6 separate regions of the Homo sapiens genome follow, and all the other regions are linked to region 1. The links are contacts of gene promoters, found by promoter capture Hi-C in human tissues and cell types (Jung and others, 2019). All regions are on one chromosome and are shown on one strand. Each heading gives the region's core, a stretch centred on a gene start or on the middle of the fragment in contact. The rest is flanking DNA. Distances are from core to core; before and after follow the strand shown.

What was found. Contacts are between HindIII fragments. The study calls those that stand out against the background at their distance.
Region 2: a contact is called between a fragment that was not itself captured here and the fragment with the promoter of PFKP in region 1, in 1 of the 25 tissues and cell types used here (dorsolateral prefrontal cortex).
Region 3: a contact is called between a fragment that was not itself captured here and the fragment with the promoter of PFKP in region 1, in 1 of the 25 tissues and cell types used here (dorsolateral prefrontal cortex).
Region 4: a contact is called between a fragment that was not itself captured here and the fragment with the promoter of PFKP in region 1, in 1 of the 25 tissues and cell types used here (dorsolateral prefrontal cortex).
Region 5: a fragment that was not itself captured here is called in contact with the fragment with the promoter of PFKP in region 1 in 1 of the 25 tissues and cell types used here (lymphoblastoid cells).
Region 6: a fragment that was not itself captured here is called in contact with the fragment with the promoter of PFKP in region 1 in 1 of the 25 tissues and cell types used here (dorsolateral prefrontal cortex).

The regions. Positions count from the first base shown.
Region 1 is chr10:3,066,298-3,071,004 of GRCh38, reverse strand. It overlaps PFKP (phosphofructokinase, platelet), which reads right to left and starts at 3,457. Exons shown (of 22, transcript NM_002627.5): 1 at 3,298-3,457. The coding sequence starts at 3,409. It overlaps LOC124902536 (wiskott-Aldrich syndrome protein family member 1-like), which reads right to left and starts at 4,435. Exons shown (of 1, transcript XM_047426132.1): 1 at 3,657-4,435. The coding sequence starts at 4,302. The coding sequence ends at 3,865. PFKP-DT (PFKP divergent transcript) reads left to right here and starts at 4,072. Exons shown (of 4, transcript NR_160681.1): 1 at 4,072-4,252. RefSeq lists silencers at 1,739-1,938, 2,025-2,205, 2,619-2,798, 3,219-3,618, 3,629-3,728 and an enhancer at 2,349-2,418. The HindIII fragment of the contact is 12,531 bases long and covers 1-4,707 here.
Region 2 is chr10:1,079,195-1,083,901 of GRCh38, reverse strand. WDR37 (WD repeat domain 37) reads right to left here. Exons shown (of 14, transcript NM_014023.4): 4 at 3,796-3,891; 5 at 3,426-3,490. Among named protein-coding and RNA genes, the nearest start is that of WDR37, 25 kb to the right of the region's middle. The HindIII fragment of the contact is 5,397 bases long and covers 1-4,707 here.
Region 3 is chr10:1,114,594-1,119,300 of GRCh38, reverse strand. The region is part of intron 11 of WDR37 (WD repeat domain 37); the gene reads right to left. Among named protein-coding and RNA genes, the nearest start is that of LINC00200, 43 kb to the left of the region's middle. RefSeq lists an enhancer at 1,311-1,812. The HindIII fragment of the contact is 4,843 bases long and covers 213-4,707 here.
Region 4 is chr10:1,384,401-1,389,107 of GRCh38, reverse strand. All of the region lies in intron 1 of ADARB2 (adenosine deaminase RNA specific B2 (inactive)), which reads left to right. Among named protein-coding and RNA genes, the nearest start is that of ADARB2-AS1, 140 kb to the left of the region's middle. The HindIII fragment of the contact is 6,824 bases long and covers 1-4,707 here.
Region 5 is chr10:1,482,972-1,487,678 of GRCh38, reverse strand. All of the region lies in intron 1 of ADARB2 (adenosine deaminase RNA specific B2 (inactive)), which reads left to right. Among named protein-coding and RNA genes, the nearest start is that of ADARB2-AS1, 41 kb to the left of the region's middle. The HindIII fragment of the contact is 9,278 bases long and covers 1-4,707 here.
Region 6 is chr10:4,602,186-4,606,892 of GRCh38, reverse strand. No RefSeq gene overlaps it. Among named protein-coding and RNA genes, the nearest start is that of LINC00705, 52 kb to the left of the region's middle. The HindIII fragment of the contact is 7,033 bases long and covers 1-4,707 here.

The DNA of each region.
Region 1 (4,707 bases), core at 2,208-4,707:
CCAAGGCAGGAGGATCACTACAGGAGGCCAGGAGTTCAAGGCCAGTCTCGGCAGCATAGTGAGATCCTGTCTCTACAAAAATAATAATAATAATAATAATAATAATTAGCTGGTCATGATGGTGCATTCCTGTCTTCCCAGCTACTCAGAAGGTTGAGGCAGGAGGATCACTTGAGCCCAGGAGTTTGAGGCTGCAGTGAGCTATGATGGCACCACTACACTCTGGCCTGGGTGACACAGCCAGACATAAGTACTCTTCGTGGTCTACGGGAGAGTACAATATTTGGAATTAAGATCTGTTTTGCTCCTATCACAATCACGTATGCACCTCATGCCCTTACCTAACTTACTTTTCTTTCTGAGTCTTTCTCCCCACTTCCAAAATGAGGACACGCCTCTCTTGGGATCATGTATTTAGGCTTGGAGATAAGAAGTGTAAAGCTCTTAGAATACAAAATGTTTTCAACAAATGGTAGCTATGATCATCTTAATATACGGAATTTTACCATAATTTCACATCTGACAGAAAATTCCCCTGAAATTAATACGTGAATGTGAATATGTTCTCTCATCTCTAGCTACAAGCAATAGTCTTCTATGTCAGGGAAAATCAAGTACTAACATAGAATCAGAATAAAATGGTAAAAGAATGGGGACACTGAGATATTCTCGAGGAATAACCTACTTACTGTAAGGGTTTGTAAATCTGTGGCAGCTAAGACCAGGCCCTCTGAGTACATCTGGAGGTGAACTTCCTTAAAAGAAATGCGTCCAAATGCTCCAACAGGTTCAAGATCGTATCACCGAAGGGTAAAGCTCTTTACAGAGTCTACAAAAAAATTGTGACTTCAGCTCTGCCAGGGAAAGAGTGCCCAGGCGACCCGCCATGGCGGGCTTCCCCAGGGACAGCCCAGGTGTGACCCATGTGGGCTCGAGGCCACCATATTTGATGCCACCTGCAGAGCTGAGGGCAGCTGTCTCCTATTAACCCGAGGTTGCAGCAACCAAGCCGCGTTCCCCACATAATATTGGTTTCCAAAGTATCATTTTCCCCAGAAAAGAAGAGGCGTGGACTTACTAACCTTCAATATGTCTAACTCCTCCCAGGTGGCAAAACCAGGGTAACAGAGAACACCGCGATTCTGCCAATGTATCCTAATCTCACATGCCTGTACACAAACTCCCGCGCATTTTAGCAAGCTTTTGGACATGGAGCTCAAAGGAATGACCCATAAATATTTTCCAATACATGCAGTATCTTAATTTTTTTTCTTTCTTTTTTTTTGTAGACACAGAGTCTCACTATGTTGCCCAGGATGCTCTGGAACTCCTCGGCTCAAGCGAGCCTCCTGCCTCGGCCTCCCAAAGCACTGGGATGACAAGCATGAGCCACCGTACAAGGCCCACAGCACCTAAATTCCAAAATAACCTTGAAACCCTGACTTTCCACCCGCCCTGGTGGCTTCCAGAGATCAGTTCCTCTTCCTGTGCCAAAGGTTTCTTGTCTTTCGCGGCCCAGGTAAGGTCACTCAAGGTGCTCCCTCTGCTTCTGAAGGCCTTTGACTGAGAAGCCACTCTGGGTCCTATCCCGACCCCAAGGCGGCTCCATTCGTACCCGCACATCTCCGGGCCGGTTTAAGTCACGCGGGCCAGGCTATTTCCACTTCACTCTCCTGTTTCTTCAATCCCATCCTCTGCTGCATCACGTTTTCTTTCTCTGAGAACCCAGCCCTGCAGGAAGAACGTTGATGCTGGGGTCCTTTTACTGGAATGCTAACGCCAGAGCACTTCCCGGGGGCGCTGCAGGGCGGGCTGCGGGGCGGGGCCTGGCGCTGCCACCCGGGTCTCCCGCGGGGGGCGCTGGGCCTGGGGAGGCTGCGCTGCGGGCCTGGGGAGCGCGCGGCGCACGGGTGTCGGGGCCGGGGCTCGTGGAGACGACGGGCCGGGCATCACGTAGGCGCTCGTGGCGGGCGGGGCGGCGCCCACAGCGCCTCAACCTGCGGCACCCGCGCCCGCCCCGCGCGCTCAAGGGCGAAGGGAAGGTCACCCGCGCAGTGGGCAGGGGGTGCATCCCCGCTCCAACCCTGTGCAGTGCGCGGCCCCGAAACGGGAGGAAATCCGCCATCCGGGCCTTTCCACGCATCTGCGGCAGGAGGAACCGGGAAAACAAAAATCAAAACCCAGCTCGGGGCGCGCCGCGTCTCCAGCCTGCGCGATCGCTAAGGCTCCCAGGTTGCGTTCGCCTGGGAAGCGCCGATCTACCCGCCAGGGATTGCACGGATCGGGACACTCCATCATCCGGGCACCGGCGCCCCCACGTGCACCCGGGGCCTGGGGCGCGCCGAGTCTCCGCCACCTTCCGCTCTTCAATGTTAAATATCCTCCCGGCGCGCCCGCGTCCGTGGGCCCAGCCTCGGGCCCCTCCTAGAGAGCAGCTTCCACATTGCAGGGCAGGGAAGCCCGGAGCCCGCGCCGCGGCGCCGCTGACATCCCGGAGTCCCCGCTTCCTGATCCTTCCCGTCTGCGGAGGCTGGCGGGGAGGGCCTGGGACCCATTTTGGTTTTCGTTTTTGTCACGAGCCGGAAGGCGACAGCACATGCGAGCGCAGGAAACCCTTTTTAAAAATCTCCCAGCGGAAACGCGAGGGGCTGCCGGACCGCCCTGGAGACGCCAGGCGGGAACCCCGCGCACCCCCGCCGCGTCCCGCATTGCAGCAGCCAGGACCCCGCCCACGCCGCGCAGGGCACGAGGCGACAGGAGGCGCGCGGGGACCCAGCCGTTTCTTCCTCGACATTCTAGGGGGTGGCGTGCGGCGGAGTTGGGGGGCGGGGGGGCACTTAGGAAGTGATCGCGCTGTACCCACGCTTCGGAGGGGACGCCCGGCCCCGTCCTACAGCTCAGAGGCAGAACGACCCCCGAGGGCGCTTCAGGCGACTCCCTCTGCCAGGTTCCATTTAAAACAAAACCGAAGGTGGAAAACTCACTGATCTTCCGGATGGAGGTTCCTACCGCCATGTCCCTTCCTCCCCCGCCCCACCGGGCAAGGACCCCGGGGCTGCCTCGCCGGCTCATGCCGCCCCGCAGGTACCCCTGCCGCTTCCGGGCGCGGGCTTCTTCCCGGTTCTCCCCATCGCTTCCCCGCTCTTCTCCCCGGTTCTCCCCATCGCTTCGCCACCTTTCCCCGGGTCCCCCCCATCGCTTCCCCCCTCTTCTCTCCGGTCACCCCATCGCCTTCGCCCGGTTCTCCCCAGCTCCGTCCGTCCGTCCCTCCCTCGCCGCCGGGAGGGGGGCGCGCACCTTGAGCATCCCCGCCGCTGGTCAGCACGCCGATGGCCTTGCCGGCCCCGGAGAGGTGCTCCAGGAACTTCCGCAAGGAGCCCTTGGGGGCCCGGGAGTCGTCCGCGTCCATGGCGAGGAGGCCGAGGGGAGCCGCACGTCCGGGTGCGCAGCAGGCAATGGGGACCCTGCCCGCGCGCGCCTGACTCGGAACCGCCGCCCCGCCCGCGCCCCCGCCCGGCCCCAGCGCCAATGGGCGGTGACGGGCGGGGCCCGAGCGTATGGGAGGGGCTGCGGGGGAGGGGGCGCGGGCGCGGCTAGGGGCAGGGGCCGGGGCTGGGGCGGGTGTGGGCAGGAGCATCTACGCGGGGGTCGTCGTAGGTGGGGGCCGCGCTAGCGGTGCGGGAGGCGGCAGAGGCAGGGGTAGCGCCACAGGTGGGCGGGTCCCTGCTAGTGGGGCCGCATCGCAGGTGCGCGAGCCTCGCGGGTGGGCTGGAGGACTCTGGTTGGGGGCTCTAGAGATGACGGGAGCGCCACAGGTGGGGCAGGGGCAGCGTCCGGAGGAGGGGAGACCGCAGGGGGCCGGGGTCACATCGTTTGCGGGGCGCGCCAGGGCGGGGCGGGATAGAACGCCGGGAGCATCTCCCGGGGGGGCGAGGGAGACCGTGAGTGGGCGCGAGCGCCGGGGCGGGTGGAAACCCCGCAGTTGCGGGGAGCGCCGATGGCGGGGAGGGGTGGAATGGGGGCGCGGAGACCCCACCTGGACGCGGAGGCTCGCGGCAGGCCCGGCCGCTCGGGCCGTTGTGGGGGCCGAGCCCGGCCGCGCGCACAGCTTCTAGTGGCCCGCAAGATTCCTCCTGGGGCGGCGCTGGGAGCCTCGGGGCTCGGCTTCCTCGACCCCCGCCCCCAGGTTTCCTCTGCAGCCTGAGGTCGGGAAGGACGGACGGAGAGTGGATCCTCCAGGTGGTGGGAAAAGGTGAGCGTGGCGGGCTGGGCCATGACGAAGCTGCCATTTCCCGGGCCCATGGGGGCTGTGGTGCTCCTGGGCCCCCAGCCCCGCCCTTGGGGGGAAGAAGCCGTGGGGTGGAGGAAGGTATCGGGGCGCGACCCTCAGAGACGCCCTGGCGGCGCCCCGGCCTGGGCGCTGGAAAGTCAGAGTGGGGCAGGAGGAGGCGCAACAGGACTGGCCTGGCGGGGAGGCGGGGAGGCGGGAGGACCCTCCCTCCCCACGGACACGCGCGCTGCTGTACGCTCTGCCTGACCTCGGCCGGCTCCACTGGCCAGCTCCACGTACTGAAATACTCACATCCAATGCACTGTGCGGTTGCCCATCCACAGCTTAACAGCCTGGTGCCAGTTACCCTGCGATGGGAGAGGGGGCAGCCCCCATAGAAGCACGGGCTTATGGGACCCGGGTTCCTTCAGTGCTCA
Region 2 (4,707 bases), core at 1,216-3,715, 2.0 Mb after region 1:
AGCCTGTGGTGGGGAGGAATCAAAAGACGACACTAATAGGTGTGCCGGTTTGCCCGAGACTTGGCGCTCGCTCAGAACAGGCACCAGCTATGAGGATGCAGGGCAGCGCGGCCGTAGGCCCCTGGCCTTTTGGACATGCTCAGCCCAGCAGGAGACAACGCGAACACATCACGGACCACAGAAAGGCATCGTCTCGAATGACGACACACACAGCAGACAGTTCTCATGCCCTCTTGTCAGGAAAAATATGAAGTGAGTGAGGAAGAAACTAATTCAACACAACGATTTCTGCAGAGTTTGCTTTTTAAATTTTTCTTTGGTAAGAAAACAGCTGTCCAGCTGTTAAGTAAATCAGAATAATGTAGACTTTTCAGAATAAAACAAAAAAACTAAGTGAAGAACTAAAATCAGTGGCATTACACAACTTGTTTCAAACACTGATTTGGCATAGCCCTGAAAAACACATCTAAATTCATTCTTCCTAAGACCATAAAGCACAACCCACTGTCACATGGATTTGGGTCCGCACCCTCGAGTTATTCTCCTCGGATACAGTGATATAAAAGGCTGAGGAAGAGGCCAACATTTTCACCAGTAACAGGAAGAACTTCCACTGCAACTGGTCAGAGGAATTGCAAAAGCACTTGTTCAACCTCAAACCCATCATTATCCTCTTTTCTTTCTGAACACTAATATCCTATTCAATCCAGGAAAATTATGCCTCCACAACATGGGAGATGCTTTTGCTTACAGAAAGTGTCATTCAGATGTTAAATAACATTGTAACATTTTAGGAGGGAGTGAAATTAAAGGACACACACAACCTCCCACCATAATAAGCGGTGGTAAATTTCACTTTCCAAGTCTCTCACCATTTCTAACATTAATAACCGTATTGTAGTAAATTTCATTTTCCAGGCCTCTCACCATTTCTAACATAAGTAACAGTATTGTCGTAAATTTCATTTTCCAAATCTCTCACCACTTCTAACATTAATAACAGTATTATAAGAAACAAACTACTAGAGTTACATTCTTCACCTGCTCCATTCGCAGGGTAAGAACAGAGTGGCTCCTTCCCAGAGGCTCTGACTGCACTGCTGCTGGAGCTGTGCTGCTGGAGCTGTGCTGCTGGAGCTGTGCAGGGGATCATGTGCCGTTTTCAAATATTTTCTCATGTGTTGCTTCCAAAATGCCCACTGCACTTTGACCATCTATTACCTTAACTCTTTTTCCTTAGAAAAGCTGACTTAGTCGTCATTACCAAGAGGCCCAACAAAACAGACTGAATTACCTAGAGGGAACGTTCATAACAGAAAAGCAGCAGAACAAAGCCGCAAACTGACGCTCACGCCCATCATCCCAGATCGTTTGAACTGCGGCGCAATCTAAAGCACGGTTGTGAAAATGTTTGCAAATATTTTTGAGAAGATAAGTGTCTTTCTTTGTGGAAAAAGCCCTTTCTGATTTTTATAAGTTTCTTTAAAGAGGGCTGCAGGTTAGACTTCCTCACTTCCCTCCCCCGTAGGCATCAGAAATCTCATTAGCCACCCAGGAAGGGGAAAAACCTCTTCTGCGTTCACGTAACACACTTTTGTGTTCCCGCTATCCCACCAGGCACGTTACTTGCTTTTCGTGGCTCTGGGTCAGAAGGAGGGAAAGTAATAAAGCTAGACTGTAGCCTTTCTCTTGTTGCATTCATGCTTAGCTTTGGCACCAAGAATCCACACTGTAGTACGAATCAGAATATATTCTGTTACCAAATTATTTCTTCAATCTTCAGATGTCTTATATTTTCATAGTTATTTTTTACAATGGGTATGGGCAGTGTGCAAAGGCTATAAAGATCATTAGTAATATGCTTCTTATAAATTCAGATGAATTTCTAGTACCTAAAATGACTGGGCTTTAAATATCTCTAATACATTTTTTAAAGCAAAGCATTACTATACATATCCTTACCCTTGTCCAAATCTTATTTTTTACTGCTCATGGTAAAGGACAACTTTATATAATCATTTCTTCCTCTACTTCAGTAATAATGAGAAAGTTTTGGAATTCCAAGACCATACATTGTATATATACAACTGTACACACCAGAAAAAACAACATAATCCAAGATAATGTAAAAAGAAATTAAATGAGGAAGAACATAATTTCACACTTCATTATGAAGAAAAAGCTTCAAGTTAATTTATTAAAAAGTTCAAAACTTGTAAGTATAAGCTAGACATTACATGGCCAAAAAAAAAATCAAATAAATTAGCAACTTACATTCTAGATGTTATCGAAGGAAAGTACAGTAGAAAATACCAACAATTTCAGATTTTCTTTTGAATAACAAAGAATTACCAAAGACTATCAAGTGAGGACAAACGGCAGAAGGACTAAATTTGCTCTATTAATTGCAGTTAATCTTACTATAGATGTCATGCTAAATTAACTTTAAACTCAAGGAAACAAATTGGAAAAATAAAAAGCTAACAAGAACTACTTACACCATCATAGCAAGATCACTGAAAATTTCAATTTATCTTTGTATCCTTGAAATATGCCAAAGTACAGATGCATACAAAATTACCTCAAAATATCACTTGATAGTAATCCATCACAGACAAATGAATTCCCAAACAATTAAACCCTTTCCACTTTAAGAAGGTCAGCACGAGATACTTTAAGAAAATACAAAAACCATGAACATCCCTATTTGCCTTAGAGACAGACCTTCACTTCCTGATCACACTTAGGAAACTGAGGAAAAGAACATAATGAACTAAAATGTAACTTTAGCTCAGAACATAATTTTCACTAATTTGTACCTATTTATTAGCTTCCTCCAAATTCAGACCCTTTATATTAAGCCAATTAACAAGAGAAATTATATATTCCCTCTAAAGACAATATATTTACTAATACATCATATATTAATCCCTGTAGGTACTAGGGTAAGCTACTATGTAAATGCCTGCATAGTGACATTCTTTTTTTTTTTTTTGGAGTCGGAATCTCGCTCTGTTGCCCAGGCTAGAGTGCGGTGGTGTAAGCTCGGCTCACTGCAACCTCCACCTCCCAGGCTTAAGCAATTCTCATGCCTCAGCCTCTCAAGTAGCTGGGATTACAGGCACCCGCCACCACACCCAGCTAATTTTTGTATTTTTAGTAGAGACAGGGTTTCACCATGTTGTCCAAGCTGGTCTCAAACTCCTGACCTCAAGTGATCCATCCACCTCAGCCTCCCAAAGTGCTGGGATTACAAGCATGAGCCACCATGCCCAGCCAGGACATTCCTTTAAAAAACTAAATTTCCCTTAAAACCATTTATCTTTTTCTGCTATGCCTTTCTAATTGGAAAATAAACAACTTAAAGTACACATCTGCACACCTTAACCACCACATGATGGCTCAAGAGCCAGTGGCCTGCATACCTTGCTGGTGGAAGCCTTGTAAGTGGTCTTCAGTTTCTGGGAGAGCTGGCTGGTGCTGTGACTGGCTGCAGGGACAGAGAGTGACAATCAAACACAATCACACAATCAAAGACCTATAGCCTCACAAATGGGTCTTGTGTCTTGCACAGGAAGAAAGGGGGCCCAGAAAGGCTCGTTTGACCCTAGTGACACAGAGCCATGGCAGAACAGGAACAAGAACCGAGCTCCTTATTCTCCTAGACCCACACCTGAATTAGATAGTTCGAGGTCTGCTGACAGCAAAACGCAAACCAGCCAGCATCCTTCACTAAATTCCAAATTTCCTGCATGTATAATCTGCAGGACAAGACTTTCATGGGATTCACCTTACCTTTTGTTTTGAGTTGGCCCTTACTCAGCTCTGCTCCATCAATCGCTTGTCCTTCAGCAGCTAAACGTTCATTAAGAGTGTCGATTTCTCTACGTACTGGGAAGAAAAAAGTTTTCAAAAATCTAAAGTATGTTTTTATGTTTAAGTGTACTCACCACTTCCAAAACTCGCACACAGAAAAAATGCTATATATTAGTGTTATATAAACAAAGACATGAATAATATTCTAATAAGCAAGATCACAATTCATAGAGTTCTCAAAAAACTAAAGAAACCATTCGAGGCTGGGTGAGGTGGCTCACGTCTGTAATCCCAGCACTTTGGGAGGCCAAGGCAGGTGGATCACGAGGTCAGGAGTTTGAGACCAGCCTGACCAACAGGGTGTCTCTACTGAAAATACAAAAAATAGCCGGGCGTGGTGGTGCATGCCTGTAATCCCAGCTACTCAGGAGGCTGAGGCAGGAGAATTGCTTGAACCCGGGAGGCAGAGATTGCAGTGAGCCGAGATCACGCCACAGCACTCCAGCCTGGACAACAGAGTGACACTCCATCTCAAAAAAAAAAAGAAAGAAAGAAACCATTAGAGATACCATTCCAAAAGTAAAAGCTCACACACTTGCTACACTGTGGAAGACACTGCTATCAGGGTCTCAAAGACAGCACCCGCATTTCAACATAGTTTCCATAGTGATTGATTCTGCACGATTAAAAACATTATTCTGGGCTGGGCACAGTATCTCATGCCTGTAATCCCAACAATTTTGGAGGCCGAGGCAGGCAGATCACTTGAGGCCAGGGGTTCAAGACCAGCCTGGCCAACATGGCAAAACCCCTTCTCTACTAAAAATACAAAAATTAGCCAGGCATGGTGGTGGGTGCCTGTGATCCCAGCTACTTGGGAGGCTGAGGCAT
Region 3 (4,707 bases), core at 1,385-3,884, 2.0 Mb after region 1:
CAGAAACACTGACCTGTGGTGCCTGGACTCAGTAACAGCACTCAGCTCTGTGTTCTCTTGCTCTGCTCTGTCTCGTGTACTGATCTTATCATCCTAGAACGTCAAGGCTACCAAGGACAGAGACCGTTTCTCACAACCACTGCATCTGCAGGAGCCTGTACAGACGTATTTTCCAAATATATGCTCTTGACTTGTTTTGCAGCACGGCCTTCTGGTATACAGAAGAAATTCCTAACGCCGATGCACTCATGTTTTTTCTTCATAGGAATGGCCCTTAGTCTTTTATTCAGGGTTCATTTTCATTTCTACGTTATCAGTTTTAGAATGTTCAGGAGCAGTAAGTAAGAGAAATCAGTGGGATTGAGTGAGAAACAGCATTAGAAACCAGCACAAAAATGGCAAAAAGCAACAGCTGACTTCCAGAGAAGCTGAAACAAAACACTCAACAGAGACAAACAGTAACGCCCAGGCTGCGGGGCCATCAGGGCAGGGAGACAGCGTGGCAGTGCGTGCACACTCCTAAAGCACTGGTATGTCCCTCTCTTACACACACACACGAAATAGTCTTTTTTTTTACAAAGTGTTGGTTCTTGAGGGATCATTGGAGAAATCGCTTCTGTGGAACATCGTGCTCTCCAAAGATGGTGTTAAATGAAGTGTTTCTCTGCTCTGCTGCTGAGCACCAGAAACCCTGCAGCTCAGATGCCTGCAGGGACTTCATGCAGAGCTGGCTGAGGGTGGCTGAGTGCACGCAGCTCAGATGTGTGCAGGGACTTCAACCAGAGCTGGCTGAGGGTGGCTGAGTGCACGCAGCTCAGATGTGTGCAGGGACTTCAAACAGAGCTGGCTGAGGGTGGCTGAGTGCACGCAGCTCAGATGTGTGCAGGGACTTCAAACAGAGCTGGCTGAGGGTGGCTGAGTGCACGTGGCTCAGATGTGTGCAGGGACTTCAAGTAGGGCTGGCTGAGGGTGGCTGAGTGCACGCGGCTCAGATGTGTGCATGGACTTCAAACAGCTGGCTGAGGGTGGCTGAGTGCACCTGGCTCAGATGCGTGCAGGGACTTCAAACAGAGCTGGCTGAGGGTGGCTGAGTGCACACGGCTCAGATGTGTGCAGGGACTTCAAGTAGGGCTGGCTGAGGGTGGCTGAGTGCACGCGGCTCAGATGTGTGCATGGACTTCAAACAGCTGGCTGAGGGTGGCTGAGTGCACCTGGCTCAGATGCGTGCAGGGACTTCAAACAGAGCTGGCTGAGGGTGGCTGAGTGCACACGGCTCAGATGTGTGCAGGGACTTCAAGTAGGGCTGGCTGAGGGTGGCTGAGTGCACGCGGCTCAGATGTGTGCAGGGACTTCAAACAGAGCTGGTTGAGGGTGGCTGAGTGCACGCGGCTCAGATGCGTGCAGGGACTTCAAACAGAGCTGGCTGAGGGTGGCTGAGTGCACGCAGCGCAGATGCTGATAAGAGGCTGCCAGGCGACCCTCACATGCCACCCGGGCCCTGGCTCTGCAGTGGCCATGCACACAGCATGGTCACCACCATCTTTTCCAAACGTCAGCTGACGCTTTAGGCAGCCACCCCTCCCCATGCTGCCCGCTCTGCGTATCATGCTGGTTTCTGCTGACTTGTGGACTCAGACACCCCCACCTGTCTCCGGAGTCTGTCCTGAAGTACCTCACAGTTAGGAAGTTTTGAGTATGTGTCAATAGCCTGATGGCTGTCTTACAGTCATCTCAAAGAAAAGTGACAGAATCTGACAGGCCGAAACAAAGCTGTCCAGTAGAGCGATTCAAACGCAATCATTTCCTTAAGTCCTTATTTATGAGTTCCTGAGTAGCCCTTCTTAAATGAGGAACTTTAAAAGGGTAAAACAGAGATACACTAAATCTCCTCTCACTTTTAAAAACAATATTCTAACTTGGAAGCGACTTTAAAATGCATCAATAGGCAGCCAGGCTCAGTGGGTCATGCCTGTAATCCCAGCACTTTGGAGGCTGAGGCAAGAGGATCACTTGCGGCCAAGATTTCGAGAGCAGCCTAAGCAACATGGTGAGACTCCATCTCTACAAAAAATACAAACATTAGCAGGGAGTGGTGGCACAGCCCTGTAGTCCCTGCTACTCAGGAGGGTGAGGTGGGAGGATCACTTGAGCCCAGGAAGTCGAGATTGCAGTGAGCCGTGATCATGCCACTGCAGTCCAGCCTAGGCGAGAGGGTGACGCCCTGTCTCAAAAAAATAAACCAATAAAAATTTAAAAACATGCATCAACAAGGGACTGGCTCAGGAAGTTACTGTTAGGTTCATATCACAGGACACTGAGAGAGGAGGATGGAACGGCAGCTCTGCAGGTGGTGGCACGGACAGCGCTGCTCTGCTGGTAAGAGACAAGGATTCTCCTTTGCACAGAAAGAACCACTGGGCCTAGGTGTGCCCAGCTGCACACTGTATCTGCTAACGTCTCCTTGGCAGTTTCTGTGGTCACAAGACAAAACATTCACTAACTAATACAAAGGAAACACCCAAGACCACCCCTGAACATGACTGCTGCAGTGAGGTTCTGTTCCCGCCAACTGCTGCCCACTACAGTTCTCTGGAATCTGCACCATACTCAGGCCAACCAGCAAAGCTCCGAAAAGCTGTCACGGGCGACAGATGGAGTCCTTAGTGACCCTAGCCTGGGTTTTATGATAACCTTGGATATCAGCCAGTTATTATTAAGAGTTGTATTTATATAAATCTATACACTTCCTAAAAATAAAATCACCTTTATTAATTTATGCAGCAACATGGATAGAACTGGGGGCCATTATCTTAAGTGAAACAATGCAAACACTGAAAGACAAAGAGCGTGTGTCCTCCTTGGCAAGTGGGAGCAAAACTACGTGCACACAGGGACAGCGGAGGACTGACAGACAGGGTGGAGACCCAGGGTGAGGTGGGTGACGGGAGGACTGAGAGACAGAACAGAGACCCGGGGAGGGGTGGGTGACGGGAGGACTGAGAGACATGGCAGAGACCCGGGGCGGGGTGGGTGATGGACAGGGCAGAGATGACCCAGGGCAGGGGGGATGACGGGAGGACTGATGGACAGGGCAGAGACAACCCAGGGTGGGGTGGATACAAGACTGATGGACAGAGTGGAGACCTGGGGCGGGGTGGATGACGGGAGGTTGCCTGGTGCGTGCAACGAGCATCACTCCAATGAGGGGTATGCTGAAGGCCCTGGCCTCACCTGAGTGGAGTACATCAAGGTAGCAAAACTGCACTCACACCCCATGAATACATACAACATTTTGTTAAAGTACTCTAATGTAATCTAATTAAAAAGACAACCACCAAGCTTTCAGGCATATGGGTAGGGGATGTAACACTGAGAGGAGACACAGGTGTGCTTCCAAGGCCCCACAGCCTGCAGGCCGTCCTCATCTCCATGTCACTTCCGCCCCAGAGGCCCTTCCACAGGGCCCTGCTGTCTGCAAAGTCACCACCTGGTAGATGGCTGGCTCTCCACCTTCCCCACAGACAAGGACTCAAAAGCCATCACCAAAAAGAAAGCAGATCTGAAAGTGGAAAGCAAACTGATTTAGAGACCACATGCGTCCTTTCCAACACGCACCTCCCAGGCGGCCAGCTGGCCGGACAGCACCCAGAGGCCCACACCCAAGCTGACACCTGCATGCTGACTGTGACCAAGCACAAAGTTCAGGTGCAATTAAAACTGCCCATCATCCAGTTAAAAATGTCGATTTCCAAACATCTTTTCCCTTTAAAAGCATAAGGAAAACTGTTAACACCATGACACAAGCTGCAAAACTGTGTTTACCTTTCTGAGCACATGATCTAGAACTCAGTGTTTAGTACCAAATCTCTCCCCCAGGTGTTTGGAAATAAAAGCACACAAACATGTCATCACTTCAAAGTGATCATTATAATTTCTCAACTGATCTTTTAAAATTTTGTTTGGTTAGATGTGTGTTTTGTTTTCTTTAGAAGAAAGCACCAAAGACCACATTTTGGGAATAAAGTTAAAATCGTTTGCAAAGAATTAAAAAGGAAGAAAACAAAAAACTTTGCATCCTCAAATATTGCATCCATGTTGAGATGATCTCCTGTTTTTTTCAATGCTAAAGTTTATCCGCATTGCAAACACTGCCAGCCCGGCACAAGGCAGAGCCACCTGCCACCCACAGAGGAGGCTTAATGGCCAGTGACACCTCGCCTGTCAGCTCCTTTTTATAGCAACCAAAATAACAACAACAAAAAAAAAAAAACAAAAAAGGGAGATGGGGAGGGGAGGAAAACTCTACGGGATTGGGGTGTGCTGAGGGAGGTCTGAGGGCTGAGGCTGAGATCTAAACAGGCAAATGTCATGACAGCAAAAGCCTCTTGCAGGCACGTCTATTCACCCACGGTCTGCACAGTGAGGGCCCACGCTGGAATGGCCTGCGTGTGGGTTCAGCCCCCTGGGTGTGTGCAAGGGAATGCAGCAGCCAGGAGAGGGCCAGACTTATGGAATTACACTGCCGGGTGAAAAACACACGAACAGAAAAGAACTTAGTTCAGGTGAAAAGCACTGACTTCCAGCTGCAGCTCCTGGTGGTTAGGACAAACACAGGCAATCTCGGAGCTTCTGCGGGTTCCGTTCATTCCAGAACACGCTGTGAGGTGAAGATCGCAGTAAGGCGGATCACAAGAGCTGTCTGGTTTT
Region 4 (4,707 bases), core at 568-3,067, 1.7 Mb after region 1:
TCAGAATCATTTTTTTCAATATGTTGTCTAGTTTCTTAGAACTATTTATTAAAAAGACTTTCTTCATCAACTTGCTTTGGTACCTTTGTTGAAAATCAGTTGATCATACAGACTTGATTCTATTCCTAGACTTCCCCTTTTGTTCCACTGGTATTTATCTAGCCTTACGCCATTACTACATTGTATTTGTTCTGCAGTATCAATATTGTTTCGACTATTCTGGGTCTTTTGCATTTCCATATAAACTTCAAAATTATCTTTCAATTTCAACAAGAGTACTGATTGAGATCGAATCATATCTATAGAAAAATTAGGGGACAGTTGATATTGTAACAATATGGAACCTTAGATTCTATGAAAATGGCATACATTTCTATTTATTGAGGTCTTTTTAAACTTATTTTAGCAATTGTTTGTAAATGTGAGTGTAGAGGTTTGGCATGTCTTTTTTTTTCTTCAGATTATACCTAAGTATTTTATACCTTTTTGTCCAAACAGTATTGTTTATTAATTTAATTTTCCACTTTTTCATTACTGGTACATAGAAGCATGTAGACTTTTGTGTATTGGAGTTCTGTCCTGTGACCTTGCTGAATTCACTTATTATTTCTGGTAGTTGTTTTCATCTTTCCTTAGGAATTTCTACATATATGATCATGCCATGAGGATAAAGTCAGTTCTACTTCCTTTCCAATCTCTATGACTTTTATTTTCTGGCCTTATGACACTAACTAAGACCTCTGTCCAATGTTGAATAGAAGTGGTGAAGGCAGACATCCCTGCCTTGTTCCCAGTACCACAAGGAAATCATTCACTCTTTCGTCATTAAATATAATACTAGTTATAACTTTTGGATATGTCCTGTATCAATTTGAGGAAATTTTCTTCTAGTCCTTTGTGTGGTGAGAATTTTCATGAAGAATGGGTTTTGTATCTATAGATAAATTAGGAGACAATTGATATTACAACAATATTGAATCTTGAATTCTGTGAAAATGGTGTATCTTTCTATTTATTTATCTTTAACTTATTTTAGCAATAGCTTGTAAATATGAGTGTGGAGGTTTGGCATGTCTTTCTCAAATGTTTTTTCTGCATCTTTTAAGATACTATTATTTTTCCCCCTTTATTATGTTAAGGTTGTGAATTACATTGATTGATTTTCAAACTGTAAACCAATCTTGCATTCCAGGATGAACCACACTGGTTCATGATACATTAACATTTTTATATAGGGATGAACTTGATTTGCTAATATCTTGTTAAAAACTCATCTGCTCGTGAGGACCATGGGTCTGTAGGTTTTTTTTCTTATAACATCATTGATTGGTTTTGGCTTTAGATTAACATTGGCCTCATCAAATAATTTTGATAGTCCACCCCCTTCCATTTTTCTAGAAAATTTTGCACAGAATTGGTATAATTTCTTCTTTAAATATTTCTTGCAGTTCACCAGAGGGAGCTCTCTGAGCCTAGTTTACATGTGAGGTTGTTTTTACTATGAATTAAATTTACTTAATATATATTGCACTCTTCTGGTTTTCTGCTTCTCCATCAGTGAACTTTGACAGTTTTTGCCTTTCAAAGAATGTTCCCATTGCAAATATGTTTTTCACTGACTAGCATACAATAGTTTACATTATTCCCATATTCTTATTTAATGACTGCAGGAACTATAGTAAGATCCCCTCATTTATTTCTAATTAGAAAACATGGAAGTTTTTTTCTCCTTTTTCATGATTAATCTAACTTGAGATTTATCAAACCTATTCAAGGAGCCAATTTTTTTGCTTCATTAGGGTTTTTTCCCTATTTTTTTCCACTTCCTATTTTGACTCCTACTATTAATTTTAGTAGTTTCTTCCTCTAACAACTTTGGTTTGATGTACTCTCTTTTTTTAGCTTCTGACAGTGGAAGCTTAGATAATGTTGGACGTTTCTTTGTTTCTAATATAAGCATAAACTTAGAGCTAAAATATGTCTCTCAGCATTGCTTTAACTATGTTTCACAAATTGTGTTATGTTATACTTTCATTATCACTGAGAATAAAGAGGCTTTAATTTTCCTGTGATTTCTCTTTTAACTCTTGGGTCACTTACAATGGTGATACTTAATTTCTGAGTATATACAGATTTTCCATATATCTTTTTGTTACATATATTTAACATAACTATATTGTGGCCAGAAAATATACTTTTATGATCTCAAACCTATAAAATTTATTGAGACCTTTTTTATTTTGTAGTGTACAGTCCATCTCAGCAAATACTCTATACAGTGTTCTATAAATGTAACTTAGGTCAAGTTAGCTGTTAGAGTTCTTCTAATTTTTTGTTCTATACCACCTTTTTCTCACTACTTGTTCTATCAGTAACTAGGGGAGGAATGTTAAAATCTCAAACTAGCATTATGTATGTTTCTACCCTCCTTCATTTTGCTAGTTTTTTATTCATGTTGTTTAAAACTCTGTTGAGTGCATAAACACCAACAAGTATTATATTATCTTGATGACTTGATCATTGTGATATGTCTTTCTTAATCCCTGGCAATATTTCATATTTTGAAAACTACTGTGTCTATTGTTAACATAGCCATTCCATCTTTCTTAAAATAAGCATTTACATGATGTATCTTTTTCAGTCATTTGACTTTTAACCTGTCTATATTTTTATACTTGAAGTAAGTTTTTGTAGCAATAAAAAATATAAGTTTTGTTTTTTAAATACAATTTGAATATCTCTGCATTTTAATTGGAGTACTCAGTCCATTTACATTTAATGTAATTACTGATATATTTGGATTTAAGTGTACCATATTGCTAATTTTTTTCTGTTTATTCAATTTTTTTGTTTCTCTTTCTTTGCCTTTTTCAACAAATCAATCTTTTTTAGTATTCTATTTTATCTTCTCTGTTGACTTTTTAGCTATACCTCTTTGTATTATTTTTAGTGACTGATCTAGAGATTAAAGCATGCATGTTTAACTTATCATAGCCAACTACCTCATGATCAAAGGAAGAAACTTGCAACAGAATAATTATATTTACCCCATCCCAAGGTGTGTGCTGCTCTTTTTATATATTTTCTAAATATACAATAAACATTACAGTACACTGTCATTATCTTGTATTTAAAGAGTTAATAGTCTTTTAGCAAATTTTTGATTTGTATTCTGTCATTCTCATTGCAGTTGCTCTGTATGTAAGATGTCCTGTTTCTCTGGCTACTTTGAAAATACTTTCCCTATCTTTTGTTTTCAGGAATCTGGCTGTGCTGATTGGTACAGTCTTCTTCAGATTTATTCTATGTAAGTTTGATTGAGATACTTGGATCTGTGATTTGATGTGTCTAAAAGAATTGAAAACTTTTAAACTATTATTTAAAGTATATTTTCTACCTTAACAGTTTTTCCATTTTTTTCTTGAATTCCAATTATACATAAGTTAGACTGCTTTATATTGTCCAACAGATCGTTGAGTCTGTCACTTTTTTCACCTTTTCTATTTCTCCCTGTGCTTAGTTTTGATTGTTTCTATTGATCTGCCTTCAAATTTACTGATATGTTTTGCAAAGTGACATATCCAATGTGAAACCCATCCAGTAAATTTTTTCATTTCAAATGTTATGTTTTTGAGCTTGAGAATTTTTGTTTTATTTATATAGTTTCCATTTCTCTACCAAGATTCCCCATCTATTTACTTATCATATCCCCTTTATTTTTAAATTCTTAAAAATATTTCTAACATCTATTTAATGTCCTTATCTGCTAATTTCAGCATCATTAGATCTTTTTACTTCGACTATATTTTTTTCTGATGATTGGTCATATTCTCCTGCTGCTTCTCACTTCTAGCAATGTCATTACTATTACTCTATCATTATTTGCTGGGCTTTGTGGATACCATGTTGTTCAGAATATGGATTTCACGGTGTTCCTTGAGTTTTCTTCTAGCAGGTAGATTATTACTGACCAAGGGTAGTTTATTACTGACCAGTTTCTAGTTGAAATGATCAACTAGATGATTTCAAAGCTTGTTTTAAGTCTTTGTTAGCGCATGTTCACGGCAGTTCTTAATCTAGGACTAGAGTATTCCTAGTCCTAAAACATGACCTTTTTACAATCCCAGCTGAATCCTAGCTCTTCAGTGATCTATGACTCCGCCTGATCAGAATGCCAGACTTTCAGCATTGTGCCATCATTTGAATTTTCATTCAGCTCGCAGGTCCCCAGCCACTGCTCTCTGTGAAATCTGAGTCTCTCCTTCTCATGTGGGGCTGAGTCTCAACCAAATCCAGCAGTGGCCCCACCAGATCTCTGAAGCAGCTTCCTTCTGCCCTCAAATTCTAGTTGTCTCAGCAGTGCAAACTTTGGTTTTTGCCTTCTCAACTTATCAGTGCTGCTGTGTTCTTCTCCAGGTCCACTTTTCTACTGCTGAAAAGAGCTTCCAGGTGGGAAGTTGTGGAGCTGTGGGGTGCACTCTCATGCTTTCCTTTTCTCAGGAACAATGGTCACGCACTGCCTGGCATCCAAACTCTGAAAACGGTTGTTTCATAGACTTTGTCCAGTTTTGCTGTTGTTTACAATGAGACAGCTGGTGAGCTGCAACTCCCTCATCCTGGCCAGAGGCTTGTCCATTCACGGCCAGCAAAGCCTTCCTTCCTGCCCTTTCTAGGACTGTGATGTGGGCTCAAGATCACTTCACACAC
Region 5 (4,707 bases), core at 999-3,498, 1.6 Mb after region 1:
CATGTCCGTTCCCAAATGTCTATATTCTTTTCTTCCTGCTTTATTCCAACTACACTTTAGGAATAAGTCAGATATCCCAAGTCATGTTCCATGACCTTTATTTACCCCACCTAACCCTTGGCCCAAAATGAAGTGTGAGGCTATAGCTTCGCCCACAACCCAGGGCCGGGAGCAGGTCAGGGCAGGGCATGGGTGAGCCCACAGGGTCTCCACTCAGCAGCAGGCACCTCCTCTCCTTCCCCTCAAGAGCTATAAAGAAGTCCAGCTCCCAGACCAGCAAGAGCTTATCTTGCCAAATTCTGTTTACGAGAAGTGTGAGTGTGTGTGTGGAGAATGTTTATTTAGTCTTTTTGTTTTCACTTGTTTTCAATAACTTGCAACTGAAGAGCTCAAGTAATTTAAATGTTACTGGGGTTCCCAACCCTAATGCTGCATCAGAATCACCAGATAACTTGACAACCCTTCACCTGAGTCTCACCCAGTCGTAGATGGATTTGGTTTGACTTTCCAGGTTTGCTATCCAAGGCCTTGGCCAAGGGGAGCAGGGCTGAAATCCGGCCTCCCCAGCATCCGGGCTCCCACGGCACCCACGCGTGCAGCTGATGAGCCTCTCTGGTGGGGCCCAGGGCTCCACGACTTTCTAGAGTTCTTGCAGATAATTCTCACACACAATGAGCACTGAGAGCACAGAGGTCTGTGTGGGAGGTCTGAGTGGGAGACTTAGAACAGAGATTCGCGTGTTCTCTCTTCTTTCCTCTTCCAACCCTAAACCAGTTACATGTACTTCATCTATCTCAATTCCAGTGACGTTCACTCCTCTTGCATTTTAAATGTGGGACTCTCTTACACCAGTAAATCGAGATTTCTGGCTCCTCCTGAAATATCTGGCAGTCCTGGATACCTTCCCATGTGGTAGCAATGAGTCATGGTGTCTCTGGTCAGTCCCCACCAACCCTGGTCACCCTCAGTTCTGAGGCTGATGCTGATGGCTGGCCGTCGTTTCTTTTGCACCCCTGCTTTTTCTTGAGGTCTGTATACCCATATTTCTGTCAAAAATAAGAAAATAAAACACAGTCCAAGGAAGACACAGTAGAATATATTTGTATGAAAGCAGCCCTAACTGCTTAATATACAGCCAAAGCAAATCTGTTATAAACCTAGCTTGATTAACTCTGGCCAGACACAGCCAGTCCCTAAAGACCTTGGTGTTTTTAATAGCTCCACCTGAAATGTGCAGACTTTGTGTCTATATTGTTCGACTCTCCAGATGATTTACTTAATTATCCATCTAGAGTTACCTCTGTAGAATATATTAATGATCTGGAATTTAGAGAGAATAATGCAATAATTAAGAATTCTATTTATCATCTCCCAAACAGATAAACCTGGAATAGATGCCATCTAGAAAGCATCTCTGAGATGTGCTTAACAACACACACACACACACACACACACACACACACACACAGGCGTCCACACACATACACATGCACACACACATTTTCATTGTGTTTTTCCTCTAACGAGGTTTACAGTAGAGCTTGAGATAATTGGCCCAACCACAAAACTCAAAGATGAATGAGTAGCCGATGTGGCACCTCTAGGAACTGTGCATCTTCTCCCTTCAATACAACCATACATAGGCCAGAAATACAGCACCTCAGAGCTTCTGCCAGCTGAAATAGATTTTAATTCCCTGCCAAGCCTTCACAAACATTCAATTGCTGGAATCCAATGATGAAGTTAGAAGAGAGAGGGAGAGTCATATATTTTATTTCTCATTGGACGTAACTTGAACACTCCAAGCCAAGGCCAATATTTTGTCCATTACAATCACATTGCAAGTCTGAATTAGAATCGTTTCTGGTTTCAAACACTCAAGGTGGGTGAGACAGAGGAATGAACATGGGGGATCAGGGCTGCCTCATTCTCACCCCAAACAATTCTGCAAAGCCTAAGCCTTCGCCATAGACGGAGCGTTATTATTCCATCCCACCGGGGCACGTGTTGTGACAAGGTGACAGGACAGCAATGAACAAGTTAGTGTTTCAGCCTTGTGGATCAGACCAGGAGAGTCATCAACTATGCTGACGAGACCTGGGACGCTTGGTGGACTCTTCTGCCCCCACCCACTGCAAGTGGGCAGCGGCCAGAGACTGGCGGGTGAGAGTTGTTGATGCAGGCTGCGTGCGGAGCTGCGTGGTGCCTACATATCCCCCCACATGCTGCCATAGGTACATGTCTACATGTCTGCCTGCATCTGCACCTATATCCATGCCTCTTAGGTAGAGATCTATCTATTAGTGCACTTACAAATCTACCTACACATCTGTATATGTACACACATGCTCACAAGTGCACCTACATATCTACCTGCATACCTACATAGGTACCTACCTCCAAGTACACCTACAAATCCACCTACATACCTACATAAATACCTACCTGCACACTTACCTCCAAGTACACCTACAGATCCACCTACATACCTACATAGGTATCTACATGCATAGCTACCTACAAATGCACCTACTAATCCACCTACATACCTACACAGGTATCTACATGCATACCTACCTATAAGTGCACATAGAAATCCACCTACATACCTACATAGGTACCTTCCTGCAAGCGCACCTACAAATCCACCTACATACTTATATATGTACCTGTATACATACCTGAATGCCGACATAGACACATACCTACATGCATACCTACATCTGTACCCATTTCCATACCTACCTGCATAGATACCTGCACACCTACCTACAAGTGCACCTACAAATCCACCTACATAGCCACATATGTACCTACATACATATCTACATAGGTGCCTACATACACACCTGCATGCCAACATAGGTGGATGTCTACATGGGTACCTGCATTTGTACCTACATCCATCCCTCCCTGTATATGTACCTATATGCACGCCTACATACACACCTCCACACCCACAGACACACGCACTTACACATGTGCCTCCTCACCTGCATACATGCATGCACACCTACCTATGCAGAAAGGCAATGAGTGTAGCTGCCATAGCATTTCCCAGAGGTCCCCATCAAATGAATATTCTGGAGAATAAACGCCATGTGGTTGCCCAGGTCTATAAGAGGAATGGCTTAAGCTTCTTCCCATTCCTTACGTTCCACCCAGCATTTTCATGGAGAAGTGACTTGGACAGAACAGACTTGGAGCCACAGGAAGGGACGACAGCGTGGACAGGGCTCTAGCTCTGAGCTTGAGCGGTGGGCGGCAGCCTGGGGTGGCAGCGGCACAGGGACGCTCAGCTGTCCGGCAACTTCTCCTTCTCAGTTTCTCACACGCGAGTGTTTAACGTGAGGGTGCATGATGAACATGCGAGCATTTAAAGAAAATTGTGTGCCCAAGAAATTTTAGCTCTGACTGTTTTTGCACACCACTTTTCAAACCAATTTTCAAGGATTTTTCTCCTTCTCAGCCAAATGAGAGAAATAAAGTCTGCAGAAGAGAGATAGTATTGTCCTGGGAAATATCGAGAGGATTAATGTATCTTGACTGAAGCTAGCAGGAAATTGTGTTTCAGTTGTGCTTATGGGCTTATTGTGAAGACGTCACATCAAGAACAATTCGTTGAACAAGAAGTATAGGGTGTAGAAATAGGAAGGCAAAGTCAATGGGGAGAGACAGATTCAATAGTGGCTTTGATGTGTATCTGCATTGTTAATAAATGAGATGCTGACACTTTCATTCAGGGGAAGAAAAATCCCCTGGCGCATGGCGGAATAAGAAAGGAATTTTTCATTTAAGTTACTTCCGTGTCATATTTGAAACTGGAGGGATAATTCCAGCACTGTTGATTCGTAAATACTTTGAAAGTTGAAATGGTTATGGCAAGCTCAACACTAACTTGACTAAACAACGTCGTATTACAGTCTCTCCTGCAGGTGCTGTCTTTTTAAACCTGTAAATGCTAAATCATTAGTTGCTTCGTCATTTTCAAACACTTTTGTTGGCATCACATAATAATCAAACTGACTTTCTGGGTATTATCAGGTAAAGAGCACCACTGAAAGACCAGAAAAATAATACTCTGGGATAGAAAGGACAAAGAGATTTCTGACTTTTCCACAGAGAGCTGTGTTTCTTCTCAAGGAAAAAAAAATGCTCTTGAAAAGTATTCGCTCTCTAGGGAGCTAAGTATTGTTTTCCGTGAACATCTGCATAGCTAGGACGAAACGACTGTACCATTGTCTTGGAATTACCATCGAACTGTAAAGTTGTCGTTCAGGATTCTGTGACTTCTTACACCGTTAGAACAGTGTGGTTTCAGTAACGGGGTTTCCTAGATCCCAAAAGACCTGGAGCTCACGTGTTCAGAAAAATGACTAACAAAATAACTACTTTGTTTGAAACAGAAACGTGTTGAAATATGCCATTTTGAAATGTACTATTATTCTCAGCTTTTACTTTTAGCATCATTTGAATCTGCAATTTAAATCTTACGGGACTTTTAGAAAAAAAGGGAAACCAAGGAGAAATAAAAATGTTTACCATAGGTTCAAAGCTCTAGTTATAATAATTAGCACAACACAGTGTACAGGAACATTGAACTCAGTTACTAGGATGCTTTTAGTGTAACTAAACAGGAAATGAAATAAAATCATGTCCAGAAACAGGAAAAATAAAAACATAATTTCACTGGAAAGTTAGAACACA
Region 6 (4,707 bases), core at 734-3,233, 1.5 Mb before region 1:
CTTTCTTCTGGATATGAAGCCTGTGAGAAATTAAAAAAAAAAAAAAGTATGCTTTCCTCTTTTAAATAGTAAAGTAAGTACAAAATAATTTAAACTTCTTTTTGATCAAGGAATGTGTTATATCAGTAATGTGTGCTCTCCTAGAAGCAGGGGATCAGCTTTAATTAAAGGGAAGCTGCAAAGAAAATCCTTTGAATGTAAAATAATTTTGTTTACACTTTATGTGGTAGTGTAATTTTTTTCCTCATGTTAGCTAAAAAATTGCAACATTTATTTTTAGGGAGCAAAACCAAAAATATATCTGCTAACTAATCAAGTTGAGACAAATAACTTACTCAAAAACGTGACTGTTCTTCATTTATAAGTGACAAATAACTGTTATATTTTTCTGCCACCCAAAACAAAAAGTTAAAGACTTCCCTGCTGTCAAATTTACTAAACTAAGATGTGTTTATATATAGTTTGTAATCTTTAGGCTCGAGGGAATTACTTACAATGATAAAATGTTTTTGTTGGAAATATGTTAGTGTGAAATACGTGTCTGTCAGTTTTCTTTTGTAATTAACATGACATATTTAAAAATTTCTATTCCTAAAAATAATAAAAAAAAACCAAGGCTTTAACAATGACTAAAATGTTTTTTAATGACTACAATGCATTTTAATGGCAAAAATTATCTTTTAGAAAAGTTTAATGAGAGAAGTTATAAGGAAATTGAAATATGCCTTACAGTTTCTAAACTTACATTCATGTAGGGCTTTGTTTATCCAATAGTGTAATGAAGAAAGTTACTCTGTGGACTGGCGGAGATGCTAAAGACACAAAATGAAAAGAAGAGAAGAATATGAAGTTGGTGACCCACTGAAGTTGATTACATCTGAAGTTACTGTCACTGAATTTTTAAATTATGTATGATGATAAATTTCCATTTTGCTCAAACTCCTTGATAGAGGACTTTATGTTACAGCCAAAAGCAGTCTAATTGATACAGAGAGATCAAATATGCACTGGAATTATGTCAGAGGAAGTATTGTGTAGTGATTAAGATTGTGAGTTTTTGCATCATTTGGCAGTAGCTTCATGTGTATGACTTTGTCAATTATTAAATTATAAAATAAATTTGGAGTGGAAGTGAGGGAGAGGAGTAGAAGGAAGAAAAAATATCAATTCTTTCGCATGTAGAGAAGCAGAAATAATGTGCAAATTATCAGGAGAAATTCTGAAGACATCATAAGAAAAATAACACAAATAAAAAGTCATCTTGAAGTGATGATGTAAAGAATATAAAATCAGTGTTAAAAATGAAAGGAAACATATCCAAAATATTGATATATGTATAAAGGAAAACTCACATTTGCAAGTTTGAAAGATAAGGATTTCAAAATATAGAACACACTTGGCAAATGATTCAGTTTATGTTTTGTACAAGAGACATATCTAAAACAAAGAGAAAAGTCAAAAGTTAGAAACATGGGGAGATGCAAACAGGCATGTTAGATATACCAACAACAACCACAGCTATTGCCATGACAATATCAGCTACAAAGCAACTGGGATCACCAACCAATCATCTGAATCCTGCAAGTTTGGGCAACATACTACTAAAAGGATCCCGGGCAGACACTTTGTAATGATTAGAATACAATACGAAATGAAAATTTAGCATTTATAGATTTCCATAGATCACTGATACTTATTTTAAAAAGGACAGATAATTTAACAATAAATGGATGTGAATGTATTAGCTATGAGAATTTAATTGATGCTGAATTTCATGACAGCTTAAGTGGTCATAAACGGATGAAAACATAGTGGCCTTAAATACTAAATTAAATTAAATTGATTATATTAAACATATTTTTTAGAGAATGCAACTTCTTTCAAATCCTATTAAAAATCTACACACACACACACAAAATTTTTTTTTTTTTTTGGAGACAAGGTCTGCCTCTGTTGCCCAGTCTGGAGTGCAGTGATGTGATCTTGGCTCAGTGCAACCTCCACTTCCCAGGCTCAAGTGATCCTCCTGCCTCAGCCTCCTGAGTAGCTGGAACTACAAGCACATGCCACCATGTCTGGCTAATTTTTCTATTTTTAGTAGAGATAGGTTTTTGCCATGTGGCCTAGGCTGGTCTCAAGCTCCTCCTGGACTCAAGTAATCCACCTGCCTTGGCCTCCCAAAGTGCTGGAATTACAGGCATGAGCCACTGCACCAGGCCTAAAGAATTATATCATATATGCCATTGATATGGTTTGGATCTGTGTCCCTGCCCAAATCTCCTGTTGAATTGTGATACTCGGTGTCAGAGGAGGAGCCTGGTGGCAGGTGACTGGATCACGTGGGAGGGTTTCTCACGAATGCTTTAGCACCATGCTGTTAGTGCTGTCTTCACCATATAGTGAGTGGTTCTCTGGAGATCTGGCTGTTTAAAGGAACGGCATCTCACTTTCTGTCTCTTGCTTCTGCTTTCGCCATGTGATGTGCCTGCTCCCACTTCACCTTCTGCCGTGAGTGAAAGCTTCCTGAGGCCTCCCCAAAAGCAGAAGCCACCATGCTGCCTGTACAGCCTGCAGAATTACTAGCCAATTAAACCTCTTTTCTTATGAATTACCCAGTCTCAGGTGTTTATAGAAATGCAAGAATAGACTAATACAGCCATAAAGAAAATTTTAAAAACTGTCAAAAATAAAGAAATGGCATAACCAACTTTATCTATAACAATGCAATCAAACTAAACACGGTAATAACAAGACTAGAAATAAATAAAACCGTCATCTGCTAATTTTTCAAAAGAGAAGGAAAGGAAGAAAATGTCTCTTTAAACAACTCAAGAGGTCAAAAAGGAACTCATAGAAGAAATATTAAACTATCTAGAAATTATATTAATTCAATTCCCAGAGGACAATCAATGCTTTATTTTCTTTATTAATAAAACAAAAGTCATAAATGGATTAAATATTTATTCTTAAAGACTTTGGAAATTGGAAGATAAACTCAATGAAAGCAGAAGAAAGAAAGAAAGAAATAAAGATGAAAGCAAAAGTTAATGAACACAAATGTGGAAAAAGCGATGACCAATATATATATTCCAAATATCTTTGGGATAAAAGCAAGCAATAAATCACTTAGTTAAGATAAAAAGGGATATGTTAAAGGGGATAAAGTCTCAGAAAAGTAATTATAAGATTTAAATGCTATGCAAATATATCTGAAAATATGGGTAACATGGCTAAACTTCTAGCAAAATACCAAATGTCAAAACTGATTTCATAAGAGAGAAAATATATTTATATAAATTACATTAGAAAATAAAAAGAGAATATTTTCAAAAGTCTAAGAAATAGATAAATCCCATAGCCACATACAATTCAGAGCAGATAGGGCTGGGGAGAGTTAATTTTAAAAAAATTGGGTGTGTATAAATTTAGAAAAAGAGAGGAGGAGACTTTATTTCTTGTAAAGGGTTACAGCCTACAAGGTGGCTGTCTCACAGGCTGGGGAGCACAGCCTCCAGCCAAGGCCGGAGACAGGCACTTCGAAGGAGGAGAGGTTTGGGCAGGAGCTTTATGCTGAACACATTGGCTAAACATACATATTCAACAGGTAAGAAGAAGAGCTATGAATATTCATGAAGGGAGTGCTGACACATGCTTAATGGGCAAATGTGCATGTTACATACAACCCATGTTCACTTTTGGTAGAGACAACATATTACAATGAGGCCCTATATGTCAAAAGATCTTTTCGGGACACGAAGGCCCATGAGTGGTTCTGAGCCTTCTGGTTCTCTCTACAGAGATTGTAGACCGCCCAGAATCAGTCCATGGTGGATGATCTTAGCTGGAGAAAGTTACTGAAATTAGTCTCTTGTCCAATCAAAGCTGGGGTCATGGCTGATGAAACAGGGCTCAGTTAAGCAGCATCTGTGGGCTGCAAATTGTTTCACTATTGCTTGTCTCCAGGCCAGGGCTTATTTAGCTGCTGGAGAAAAATTAAAACCCTGTAGCAGTGAGAACACAGTTTATTATTCAAGTGTGGGCTGTGTGACTTAACCGTTGCCTGACACGGCCTTAGGTCCTGTTTGGAGTTTGGTATCTTATTGCCAAAAGGACTCTGTTCTGTCAGTCTTATAATGATCTCTATTTTAACATTAATGCTGGTCAGTTGTTTTGTCTACACAGCAAAAGAGAGTGTTATAATGAGTCCTCTGACCTCCCGTTCCGTCATGACGGGAGGAACTCAGTTTTAATGTTTATCTGGGGTCTCCTTGGCCAAGAGGGGGCCCACACAGTCAGTGGGGGCCTTAGGATTTAATTTTAGTTTACAGGAGGCAGGGCAAAAAGTCTCCTTGCTCAAACTCTTTTTAATAATGTTTTGTTTTGAGATAATCTTAAAGTTATAGAAAACTATACACCCCACATCCACATTTCCTCTTCAGCCATGTGGGGCTCACTGCGGACTACATTCTTCTCCTTTACAGCAAAAAGCCCCAGCCCAGGATCCCAGACTGCATTTGGTAGTCAGGGCACATTAACCACCTCCAGACCAGGACAGTCCGTTAGTCTCCCCTGGGCATCAGGAGCATAACTTTTTCAGAGATTATAGGCCAGTCATTATGTTGAATGCCCCCGATTTGGGGCCAGTCTTAATGATTAGATTCTTAATGATTAGATGTTTCTTAATTATTAGATTCAGATGATGCTTTT